Regions from separate parts of the Homo sapiens genome. Here region 1 is linked to region 2. Evidence: promoter capture Hi-C in human tissues and cell types (Jung and others, 2019). All regions are on one chromosome and are shown on one strand. Each heading gives the region's core, a stretch centred on a gene start or on the middle of the fragment in contact. The rest is flanking DNA. Distances are from core to core; before and after follow the strand shown. Region 1 has its middle 29 kb from the start of ABCA3. Region 2 holds the start of NTN3 (netrin 3).

The links. The method cuts DNA at HindIII sites, captures the fragments that hold promoters and counts their contacts. A contact is called where the count stands out against the background at its distance.
Region 1: a fragment that was not itself captured here is called in contact with the fragment with the promoter of NTN3 in region 2 in 4 of the 25 tissues and cell types used here (IMR-90 fibroblasts, adrenal gland, bladder and 1 more).

Annotation. Positions count from the first base shown.
Region 1 is chr16:2,366,471-2,372,900 of GRCh38, reverse strand. It overlaps the pseudogene ABCA17P. Among named protein-coding and RNA genes, the nearest start is that of ABCA3, 29 kb to the right of the region's middle. RefSeq lists an enhancer at 5,627-5,976. The HindIII fragment of the contact is 6,058 bases long and covers 404-6,430 here.
Region 2 is chr16:2,467,301-2,473,415 of GRCh38, reverse strand. It overlaps NTN3 (netrin 3), which reads right to left and starts at 2,119. Exons shown (of 6, transcript NM_006181.3): 1 at 787-2,119; 2 at 527-715; 3 at 282-431; 4 at 98-148. The coding sequence starts at 1,714. It overlaps TEDC2-AS1 (TEDC2 antisense RNA 1), which reads left to right and starts at 5,203. Exons shown (of 1, transcript NR_135198.1): 1 at 5,203-6,115. RefSeq lists silencers at 1,842-1,981, 5,245-5,294, 5,305-5,644, 5,705-5,754 and enhancers at 3,915-3,994, 4,155-4,294, 4,254-4,797. The HindIII fragment of the contact is 12,116 bases long and covers 1-6,115 here.

The DNA of each region.
Region 1 (6,430 bases), core at 2,183-4,682, 100 kb after region 2:
CCCCACCCATAAAGCAAAGATCACAGCCTTGAAAGTGGACTGAGGACATGAATACAGGCATGAAGCATTGTAGTACAGACTCTGACCAGGTTTCTGTATTTTTTTCTCATATTTTACAGAAGTTTCACCCACGTGAAATTTATTTTTTATTTTATCATTTTCGTTTTTTAGAGACAGGGTCTCACTCTGTTGTCCATGCTGGCGTGTAATGGTACGATCATAGCTCACTGTAGCCTTGAACTCCTGGGTTCAAGCAATCCTCCCACCTCAGCCTCTCAAGTAGCTAGGACTACAGATATGAGTCATTGCGCCTGGCCTCACGCGAACTTTATTAGCATTTTTTTTTTTAGAGATTTGCCTTACTGAATCTTTCCAAAGCATTCAACTAAATTTTCAAAGGTAACTCCAGTCCACTCCATCTATTTACATAATATTTAATTAAATTACAAATTATAAGAACAAGTACAGGTATAAAGAGATTTAGGAACAAACTTTAAAAAGCATACAACTCAGCAGGTAAAAGATAAACCCAGATTCGCTAGAGAGAAGCCTACCAGCTGCAGTGTGTTGGGAGCTTCAATCTGAGAGTTTTACAGAGGGGATAGAATGTCAGTTAATTTGGACAATTAATTACATGGAGATCAGTTAAGAGGTGGAAACAACAAACTATAGGAAGATGGGATGAAAGACTGATGAAATTTAGAAAGACTTCTTGAAAGAAATGAACTGCAATATAAATTTTGAAGAAGAGCAGCCAAACAATGAGGCCTGCCTATAGGAGGAGCAGAATACCTAATACCTATTTGGGGAACAGAAAAGGAACACGGTCAACCAGAGCAAAGGGACTATGCTTGAAAGGGTGAGGGGAATAGGAGGGATGGAGTGATACGGGTCATTCCTAAATTAAGGACAGTGTGTTTTAATTCTCCTTAATCCATCTACATAGTCATACTAAATAAACATGAGGGAGTTTAGGAAGAAAGAGTTCTATTAGTTGTATTCAGTGTTCAAAGAAGGAAATGACATTAGTGCCCCATTCCCCATATCCCACCTTGGTCCTAGGGCCAAACACCGTCAGGGCATTCTCCCTCCTGGAATATTTCCCATAGTAATGACTCCTCCTGGAATACAACTTGCCTACTCCTGGGTCCTTGCCAAGGAAGAGTTGAAAGTTTGGGTTGGGTCTTAGGGCATCACCTGAATAGAATGGAAGAGCTGACAACATTGATCCTATCAGCGTCCAGGGCTAAATGCTATTCTAGAACTCCCCAAGAGACTATCTTTTCCTGACTCTGCACCAAGCGGAAATGGAACACATTCCTCTCTGGCATATTTCATCTAAGATTCCACTCAGAGAAGCTAAAGCTTAATTACTGGAAAACTGTTTTACTTTTACTCTTTATCTGGGAATGAAAACTGTATTTATGGCTAGGTTGTACTGTTCCATATAAAATTATCTGGAAATTTTTAACCTCTCTATGTCTCAAGTTACTTCCTCTACTAAATAAGAATAATAGCAGTAGTTCTCTCATATAATTGTGTATCATTCAGGATCCCTAAAGGAAACAACTGTTATATTCAAATTACAGTAATTCAAAGAGGGTTTGTTTATAACAGGCACATGTGTGCACAGAGACAGAAAACCCTACAGGATAGTGCAGAAACCTAGGGCTAGCAGCAAAAGCATGAATACCTTCCTTGGATCCAAATGGATGAGAAGAAAGAGAGGCTACCAGAATCCAGAATGGGAGAGTCTTGTAGGGCAAGACATCTTGCGAGAACAGTGACCTTCAGTTAAGGAACAAGCTGAGCCCAAAATGACCTGTAGGGATCTCTCCCTGCTGGCCTGAGGTCAACACAGGGACCTCATCCTCCTACTTCTTCCCTCTGAGGTCCTGCCAGATTCCTTGTGGGAGCATGTGCTGGGATCCCTACAGGTCAGCCTTCAGGGCATCAAGCAAGGTGGTGAATAGTGAAGGGTAGATCTCTTATCATGAGTCATTCCACAAGCATTTTTCAAACACCTACCTAGTGGGAGGCAGTGTGCTGACCAACCAGGAATGACCAGGCTGGACATTCTCAGACTAAAGGCAAGGATTCATGTAATAACAGAGGTGGGATCACCTAGATTGCAAGCAAGTTAAAATTGTGAACAACCTTCCAAGTTCCAACTCACCTTGGAAGTTGCTTGGACACCTAAGCAACCTCCTTTTGGCTTCATTCCTATTCTGGTCATTTTTCATTAGCAGCTTCCCCATACCCCTGTCCCAGGAGAGGCATACACTTGAAGTATCTGGGGTTACCTTCAGTCTTTTCTCTTTCTCCAGTACAATGGAACTGATGATGATGAGCTCAATGTACATGAAGCTGAGTATGAAGAACACAGAAAACTCATTCTGAAGGACTAGGAAGAACCTGTCCTCGATATAGGGTCCATATGGGAATCTCTTCACAAGTACATTGAGATTCTCAAACATGTTGGTCATTGCATTGTGAGCATGGTACCACATGATGGCTTTATCCACAGCATACTGTATGGCCAGGAAGCCTTCTTTGTTGTATCCTATGAGAAAATAGTGAATATCAAGAAATTAAGGTCAGGAGTTCGAGACCAGCCTGGCCAATATGGTGAAACCCCATCTCTACTAAGAATACAAAAATTAGCTGGGTGTGGTGGTGCATGCCTAAAGTCCCAGCTACTCGGGAGGCTGAGGCAGAATTGCTTGAACCTGGTGGGAGGCAGAGGTTGCAGTGAGCTGAGATTGCGCCACTGCATTCCAGCCTGGGCAACAGAGGGAGATTCCATCTCAAAAAAAAAAAAAAAAAAGAAAGAAAGAAAGAAAGAAAAAGAAAAAAGAAAGAAAGTATAAAGATACAACAACTGGTGTTTCAGACGGATCATGGCTAGGCATTCATAGAGACAGACAGCGGTAGGAAAGGCATCCCTAGAGTCCTCACTACAGTGTGGAAGAAAGAGAGGAAAGTCACAAGGGAGACCCCTGGAGCTGAGGGTAATGCATATATGATCCAAAAATGGGGTAAAGGAGCCTGGGCAGGCAAAATAAAAGATGTCCAATACAAGAATCTTTTGAGGTGGGACCACATCTCCTCCCCTTAGTATTCAGACTTCAGGGAAAGAGCACCTCTTCTGCAGTTTTGATCACACAGCACGTATGAGATGGTTAAACTCAAAGCACTCATATGAGATGGTTAAACTCAAAGCACTTGAAAGACACAGCCTCCCTAACCTGTTGTGACCTACTTCTGAATTGTTACCGCTGTTGGGTTTATGGTCAGTGAATTTTACTACTAAGTCTCAAAAACAGTCCTTATCACAAGCAACACTCATTTCAATACAGCATAGTTGGCATGATGGGGTCAGCTTTCAGGAAAAATAGGCTGAAAGGCAAAGATTCCTGGTTCTGGGGTCCTCTAAGAGATAACAGCCCCACCTCCAAGCAATGGTTACCAGGCTCCAACATGAGCAAAGCCAAGGTGGGGTACCTCAACCCCCTCCCAGGAGTAGAGGTGGCTATGGTCTTCAGATGGCCTAGACCTAGGCAGACTCTCAGATCTGTCCAGGAAAAAGAAGGAACAAATTGTTGGTAATAAATTCTCAGAATGGTTACATATTCTTGATTGTGTGTAGGAGTATTTTCACTGCAGAACTGCTGGATCTTTTCTAGAATTATGCAAAACTGTAAGTACTCGGACTTGGACTCTCACTTAGTGTGCACAAAGGCCTGAGGCTTCAAGCCAATATTTGAGCCATTCTACAACAGATGTAGATTACCAGCTTAATTTTCTAAGAAAAGTTAGTTGCCTAGAGGATGTTCACCCTAAACCCCTCACAAAAAGGAAGACCAAAAAATCTAAAGTGAATGGGAGAGCATGAGTCTTTCAAGAGCGGATTGGCCCATGGGCCTTCAGTCGGGAATGTGATGCTTATTGTGAAGGACAGAGGATGCACAGGTGTCAGTGTTGCCCCAGTACTTCTCTAGGAACCTGGGGTTGCCAGAAGCGAGAGTTGGGCAACGCAGGCAGATCCAGGGAGTACTGGGTGCCAAGTTTTAGGTGTTTGCTCTGTCAGGTGCAGTTAGACCCCTTTGCATGGGAGAGAGCAAGCAGATGCAAAGCAGCCACTCAGCAAGGCTCTCTCCTTCACCCTCAACAGAGGGTGACAGAGCAGAAAGTCAGCATGGCTCCCCAAGAAGAGAGGACTATGGCAGCCAGGAGTCAGGACCTGGCTTTGGGACCACATGCCAGCCCTTGGGACAAATAGGAACTCCTGGAAAAACTCCAACCTTCTGGCATTAATTTTCTGTCCTCTTATCCTGAATGACAGACAGGGAAAAGGAGATTTTCCCAGACTAGAAATGCAGATAGGGAGATTCATGAGAGGGAAAGGGAGAGGGCCAGCCAAGACCAAGAGGCCTGAAGAACAGGAACTGGGATTCTGCACCAGTGTTGCAGATGGGGCAGGGAGGATGGAATAAGAATCAAGGCAAGATCTAAAAGCATCAGTCAGAGTAAATAAAATCAAAGTGAAGCATCAGCCAATGAACAGGCCAGAAAGAGTTCAGGGATTCCCCCAAAGCAGGAACAGACTCTTTGGAGCTGCACAGACATGCAGAGAGTCCCAAGAGTGTGGATGATTATCTTCTGTTTCTTCTTCATTAAATTAAATGAGACGGATGAAATGCAAAGGATACAGTCAGTGGAGATTGTAATGGAGGCATGTTAGACATAGATCATACAATATGACATGCGTGTTGAACAGGACATGTGTTTAAAAAGATAGAATAGGGCCAAAAGTGGTGGCTCATGCCTGTAATCCCAGTAGTTTGGGAGGCCGAGGTGGGCGGATCACCTGAGGTCAGGAGTTCGAGATCAGCCTGGCCAACATGGTGAAACCCTATCTCTACTAAAAACACAAAAAATTAGCCAGGTGTGATGGTGGGCACTTGTAATCCCAGCTACTCAGGAGGCTGAGACAGGAGAATCGCTTGAACCTGGGAGGTAGAGATTGCAGTGAGCCGAGATTGTGCCATTGCACTCCAGCCTGGACAACAAGAATGAAACTCCATCTCAAAATAAAATAAAATAACCAAATAGGAGTGGTATTTGCAGGTGGAAAAGGGAAGCCGAGAAAATCTTAAACATGCATAAAGCACAGATCATGTTTCCTCCATGATGACAAATGTCACTGCTAAATTGGCCACCCACTGGTCCCTGCACTCCTTGTTCCAGTAAAATGTTTCCATCCTTCCTCCAAACAATTCAATATTGTTACAATCAAATCCATAACTACTGTTTTTACTTGCTCTAGAATGTAAGCAGTTTACTGAATGTCACATTTCTAAATGTAACTCCTTCAACCTCTTCTGAAATGCTAGTTTATGTGCTGGCAGCAAAACAAACAAAACAACAAAAGTGGCCATGCTCTTTTTTTTTTTTTGAGACGGAGTTTCGCTCTTGTTGCCCAGGCTGGAGTGCAATGGCCCAGTCTCAGTGCACCGCCACCTCTGCCTCCCAGGTTCATGCAATTCTGCCTCAGCCTCCTGAGTAGCTGGGATTACAGGCATGAGCCACCACACCCAGCTAATTTTGTATTTTTTGTAGAGATGAGGTTTCTCCATGTTTGTCAGGTCTCGAACTCCCTACCTCAGGTGATCCACCCGCCTCAGCCTCTCAAAGTGCTGAGATTACAGGCATGAGACACCGCGCCCAGCCACGGCCATGCTCTTAACACGCACAAGCTTCGGGGCTTTCTCACCAGGACTTCCCCCAACAGCAAATGGAAATTCCCGGGGTTCTTGGCGTGGATTGGGAGGGTAAAGAAAGGATGTGCACCAGCCTTCTATGTCATCTTGAAAAAATATATTCTTCCCCAGTATAAAATTCTTCTGAAAGTAACTGAAGCGCAATTGATACTTAACCTATGAAGAACAAAGAGAAAACAAATTCGGTTATGAACTCCTGAAACTCAGCAAAGGCACAGGACAGAACAAATCTGTGCTTGATGTCAGCTGTAACAGGATGAAGGATGCCCACACTGGCAGGTGTCCCCTGGGAGACCATGCTGCAACAGTGGTCTTCCCTGTGTACTCTGGAAATTCTCCGTGGTGCAAGCCTGGGAAACATACAGCCGCTCCTGAGCCCCCTTCAGGAATGGTGTGCTGCAGAACAGTTCAGAGCAAGGGCTCTGGAGCCAGACCACCCAGATTCTAACCCCAAATCTCCTACTGAATAGCCTTGACACCTTGGGCAAATTACATAAACTTCATTCCTCAGTTTCCTCATGAGTAAAATGGGGATATTAACAACGTCTACCTCATAGGCTACAGTAGGATTGAACCAGATGGTATCTGTGTTGCCTAGCATTAATAAATGCTTGAAAAACATTGTTGGTTATTTTATTAACATGTCT
Region 2 (6,115 bases), core at 870-3,369:
GGGAGGCTGGCACAGACTCCCTTTCCCCACCCTCTCCTCCCAGAGCCCCCTCCCCCAAAGTCATGCCAGTCTGGGGCCCTGTCCTGTGTCCACTCACCCTGGGGCTGCACAGGGCTGCTGTCCTCAGTGGGTCCAGGGATAGGGGTCTCTGCAGAGAGGGAGGGAGAATGGCCTGCGATGGAGGGGCAGAGAGATCTGCAGGGCTCGGGGAATAGACGGGACAACAGCAGGGAGCTGGGGTGGCCTTGGCTTGGTGGCTGAGGCGGGGCAGGGTCACTCACTAACACAGGGCGCCACTGGGGAGCGGCTTTGCTGGAAGCCAGGCGCGCAGCGGTTGCAGGTGAGGCCAGTGACGCCATCCTTGCAGGGACACTGGCCTGTGGTCTGGTTGCAGGTCTTGCCAGCAGCACCAACCGGGTGACAGTCGCAGGCTGAGGACAGAGGTGGGAAGGGCCTGGTCAGAAGCCTGTCTGGGGATCTGGGAAGTCAGAGGGTGAGGGCCTGCAGGTGGCCGGTGGTGGCTCACCCCTGCAAGCCCGACGGTCACTCAGGGCACGGCCAGGGTCTCGATAGAAGCCCTCCCGGCAGTAGTGGCAGTGGCGGCCGGCGGTGTTGTGCCGGCAGTTGAGACAGACACCCCCGCTGCGGCGGCCGGACAGTCGGTACAGCTCCATGTTGAAGCGGCAGCGGCGGGCATGGCCGTTGCAGGAGCAAGCTGCAGGGAGGGATGGGTCAGGGGCAGGCTGGTTGTGTCCAAGGTCCCCAGGCCACCCTCCAAGGCCTCACCGAGGCAGGCGTGGGATTCCCGGGCAGTGGCCCGCTGCCATGGCCTGTCGCAGTAGAAGGGCTTGCAGCGGCCGCAGTCAGGGCCCTCGGTGCCATGCCGACAGTCGCAGATCAGGTGGCCCTGTGTGTCCAGCAGGCACCGTGAGGCATGTCCATTGCACTTGCAGCGCCCGCCCACCTGGAGGTCGGTGGCTGCGTAGGAGTAAGGGACGACGGCCTCCATGTCCCTGGGGTCACCTGCCGTGCTAGGCCTTGTGAGCACTACACGGACGTCGGTGGCGGTCACCCAGTCTTGGAGCACTGGGCTGCTGTCCAGGTCCAGGCCTGGGGGGCTGCTGTCCTGCATGCTGAAGGCCAGAAGGCCGCTGCCATCAGGCTGGGCCAGGGGTGCGGGGAAGCACAGGGCCTCAGGCCCTGGGCCAGCTGGGCCATTGGCAGGGGCAGGCAGACGGCCATAGTCCAGGTCACAGTGGGAGGAGAAGAAGCCCAGCGGGGCCCAGCTGCGGCCATGGTCCTGAGACTTGAGCAGGGCCACGGAGGCTGGGGGAGCTGAGCAGAAGCGCAGGCTCACGAAGACCAGCTCAAAAGCCTTGCCCAGGGGCACCGTGAGAGTCACGTTGAGGGGCGCCCGAGGCAGGGACTCCGAGCGCCAGCACAGAGGGCTGGCCGTGCCCCCTGGGGAAGTAAGGAGGGCGGGGGAGTGTGCCCGTCGCGGGTCGGAGGCGTCGCAGGCCCGAGTGGCCGGCCGCCCGCACGTGCTGGAAGCCAGCACCTCGCGGCCCAGGGCGGCGTTCACCAGTCCTGGCACGCAGCCGCGGGGCGCACCCCCCTCATCGTGGCAGGGGTCGGCGGGCGCCGGCGGCCCAGGACTCAGGGCGGCGAAGAGCGTGCCTGCCGTCAGCAGCAGCCCCCAGGGCCAGCCAGGCATGGCCGGAGCCGCTGCGGGTCAGCCAGTGGCCGGGCCCCAAGACGCTGCCCTTGGGGAAAAGAAGCCCTCTCCGCGGCTCTGCCCACCAGGCCCGCAATGCCGAGGAACAGGGCCCCCGGGCGGCCCCAGCCCGGCCCAGAGGTGGGAGCAGCGGCGGGCACGCCCCGGGCCCAGCACAGCAGCGGGGATGTTGGCGCGTCCTCCCGCTGGGCCTAGAGCGATGACAGGCGTCGCCCCCGCTCCCGGTGCCTCCGCCCGCGGAGGCCCCACCCGCCGCTCGCACTCACCCACCGAGGGCCGGGCGGAGCAGGTCTCCCGGCCTCCCGGGAAGGGCCGTGGGCGGGCGGGGCCTGCGGTGCACGGGCCGCCGCCTCCTCCCGGCTGCAGCGAGGGCGGACGAGCTGTGCCAGGAGGGGGTGGGGGGCGCAGCAGGCGCAAGCCCGGGCCCAGCCGGGGGCGGGGCTGCTCGGGTCGGGAAGGAGGCAGGGGAGGGGAGGGGGCCTCATCGCAGAGCTGGAATCAGAAGCAGATTCAGACGCGGGCTGGGCCAGCGGGGAAGGGGGCTGGGAGGCCCGGGAGCCAGGGGAGGGGCCGGGGAGCCAGGAATGCGCTGGCGGGAGGGGTCTGGAGGGGGGCAGCTCAGCCTTCGCAGCCCGTGGGGGACCACCCAGCAGGGTCCTGGGCCCACAGCCAGGTCTTTACTGCTCCTGGGGCTGTGCCACGTGCTGGACGGGGGTCTGGGTCGCCTCCTCCCTGAAGACCATCAGGCAGGCAAGGCCCCGGGTCTGACAGCAGAGGCCCTGGATGTTCCCCAGGTAGGGAAGCCAAGTAACCACCAGTTGAAGGGTCATCCCCAAAGCAGCATCTACTCGAGTAGAAGGAACCCAGGATTCGGTCAGGTCTAATTTTGAATCCAACTGCCCCATTTCTGGCTGCATGTCTTGGGCTCCTGTTTCCTCACCTGCCAGATGCCTGTTACTCAGCACGCGCTCTGAAGCTGTTGGATTTGATGAGTCTCAAGTGGCATCAGGCCCAAGTCGAGAGCTGCACAAATTGGAGTGTCTCCTGCCCATGTTGAGGAAGGGGGGCACCCCCATGGGCCTGAGCTGGGCTAAGACATGAGGCCAGCATCCCCTGCACCAGGCCAGATTCTGATCCCAAAGCTCCCTGGGTCTGCAAGTTTCTAGGGGCACCTCTGCCACGGGCCCAGCTGGCAGGGAGGACATGGAAGCTGGAGGGTGGGATGGGGTGGCTTCTTGGGGTTCGGGGGCTTGGTTAGCTGTTGAGGACCCCTCTGCAGGGGCAGGGAGTAGGGTTTAATCATGGGAAGGGGCTGGTCGCAACCCGGAGCCCACTGCCCTACGTCACAGCACGTTTGGGCAGGGAAACTGAGGCAGAAGCCCAGCTGGGTGGCCTGGGGACTAGCTGGGGATGGGGTAGCTGTGCCTGGGAGCGACACCACCAAAGAGGGTCCAGGAACAGCTCTGGTCAGAGAAACCTCCTCCCCTCCGACTTTCAGGTCCTTGACAGAGGAGGCCAAGCATCCCAGGGAGGGGCAGGGAACAAGTTCCGTGCAGGGCCAGCATCGAGGCCTGAATGCCCCGTTTCAGATGGGAGGCCAGGCCTGCAGCTGGTGGAGGAGGCCACGTGGGTGCTACCCTGGACACGACCAGAGATGAGCAAGGACCAGGAGGAAGAGAATGGAGAGGTAGACGCATCCCGCTGTTGGGGAGAGGAGGGGCAGGAGGACACGGAAGCCTCCTAGGGGAAACTGAAGGACCAGAGGAGGGAGCAGGAGGGCCTGACCATGGAGGGGAGGAACGGGAAGACAGGGTGATAGGGCACCTGGCTTGGCTCCTGGAGCAACTGACACTGGCTGGTGGGCACCTTCTCCTTGCCACACATCTGCATGTGACAGCCACAGATGCACAGGGATGGGGGCACCGGAGGACTGAACAGAGAGGGCTAAGGGGCTCTCTCTCTGCCACAGGGCCCCTGCCCCTCAGCTTCCTGATAAAGAGAATGGGAATTGTGTCCTTTACAAGTTGAGGGACCTCAACCTGACGGGGCTCACGCTCCGCTCTGTGGGTCAAGCTTAGAACCTGAAACGTCCCAACCACCCTCTTCAAGGTCCTTCTGGCTCCCAACCCCCACCCCCCGACACCCCACCCTAAGGGTGGGAGGAACCCTGGGGGGACTATGGGGGCTGAGATCATCATTCTGGGACAGTGGAGAGAAAAGCCCAGGCCTGACAGAGGGGTCCCACTGGCCAGAGACAAGCCTCTGGGGAAACCCAAGCTGTCTCTGGACGTCAGGGCCACTGCCAGACTGGCTGCCAGCCAGGCTGCAAGAGGGACAGTGGCCAGCAGCCTCTTCCACCCTCATCAGAGGGGCTGGCTTTGTCTCCAGCTCAGCTTCCCTGTGAGCCAGGACTGGGGTCTGCAGAACGTCTGGTGGCTTCTGGGGTGGGGGAAAGTAGGTGCCTGGGGCTCAGCCCTGCCCCAATTGTTCATCTGGGTCAGCAGCAGCGGCGGGAGGCCGTGGGCCCAGAGGGCCATTGTACCGCCAGCTCCCCAGGGAGGAGGCCGCTGGTCACAGGGCCTCTCCCCAGGAACAGTCCTCTGCACACGCTACTCTGCCCCCACCCCCAGCCCTCACAGATGGTGTTTGGGAGTTAGGAAGGGCCTCCCCACAGCGCCCAAGCGGGACTTATTGCTCCCCAGGGACCCAGCCACCTGTCCCAGCCCCTGGCTGGGGCCTCTCCCACCTCCCACCTCTCCACTGGCCCTGCCCCCTCCTGGCACCTTCTGCAACAAAGAAGCTCCGCCTCCCCTCCCCCCACCTGCAACTCAGGCCGCAGTGCTTCGCCTCCCCCTCCCCACCCCACCCCTCACCCCTAGAGTGGCAGCTCCAGCTTTGGGGCACAGGCTGGGGAGAGGGCATAGATGGGCTGGACAGTCCTAGGCGGCAGGGAGCTGAGAGTCTTTCCTGTAAGATGCCCGTTGATCCAATAATTCCCTGCCCAGCCCAGAACCTGCTGTCTCCCCCCAGACGCCTGCAAGCCACCACATGTTCACCTATTGCACATTTATCGAGCGCCTATTATGCCTCGGGGGGTTTCCAACCGAGCTCCGAAGGCAGACAGCCCAGGAGCAGACACAGCGCCGGCTCCCAACGGCGGGTGGTGTGGCCGAGCCCGCGTCGCGCTGCCCTGCACCCAGCACCCTCGCGCCGGGTCGATCCCCCAGCCTCGCAGACCGCTGCCCAGCCAGGCCGCTCTGCGGTCGCGCCAGCTCTGCGCGCCAAGTCAAAAGCTGAAATGCGACGTTGGACGGAGGAGGGAAGAGAGGGAAAGCAGAGAGGGAGGGAGGGAAACGGCCGGTGGCCTTCTCTGCCCAAAGGGTTCCAGAAGAAACGATTTGGGGATGGGGTGTGGGGGGCGGCCTCTGCGACCACGCTTGGCACTGCGCCCGCCCGGCCGGGGCGAGGTTGGAGGGAGGGGCGGCCGGCTCGCGGTGACCTCGATGGGAGGGGGCCTCGCCCGCGGCTCAGGGCGCCCCCGGCTCCCTGCGCCCGGCCCTTCGCCTCCGCCGAGCGCGCCAGCACAGGAAGGCGGCGGTCAGAAGCCCCAGGCCCGCACTGAGCGCGGCCAGCGACGAGCCCTGGGCCAGGTCCAGGCGGGGTCCCCGCAGCGAGAAGGTGATGGCCGTGGCAGCCGCACCAGCCAGCACGGCCACGGCACCGAACGGCAGAATGCAGCGAGGCCACGAGCCCCCAGCGCCGCCGGTGGCCAAGAGCAGGGCGCGCAGGGCCCCGGGGGGTTCCGGGTGCGCCAGACCCGGCCCGGGGGGCGAGGCGGGCGCCGCTGGGGGAGGCTCGAGCGCGCTCATGCCGCCAACGCGGTGGCCGCGCTCGGTGGGTGGTGTGGACGCCCGCGCAGTCCCAGTGGCGTTCCAGGCTCGCCACGTCAGAGCCCATTGGCTCCAGAGGCGGTGACGCCAGCCGGGAGCCCGAGGAGTCAGCTGCTACCTCTGGGTTTTGGCGGGGAATCGGGGTGGGCGGGCGTTAGTCCGAGGAGGCGGCTTGTCTTTCCCGCCCTGGACTCCTGTGTTGGGGCCTCCTCAGGACCCCCACAAAGCTATCTAGGCCGCCTCCCTGCTCCAGGACACCACTGTCCTCTGGGTTGGCCCCCGGGATTGGTGGATCATTGAGTCAGTGCACATCTGGCTCCCATCAGGGCCTGGCCGGGGTAGGGGGGATAGCACCCCTGTCCTCCTGAGGCAGACATCCAGTAGGCATGGGGGATGAGCCATGAGCCAAGTCAGCCAGTGAAATAACGTCAGGTAGAGACCACCTGCTCTGGAAAGCCACGGGGGTGTACGGTCGCAGCGTGGTTGGGGG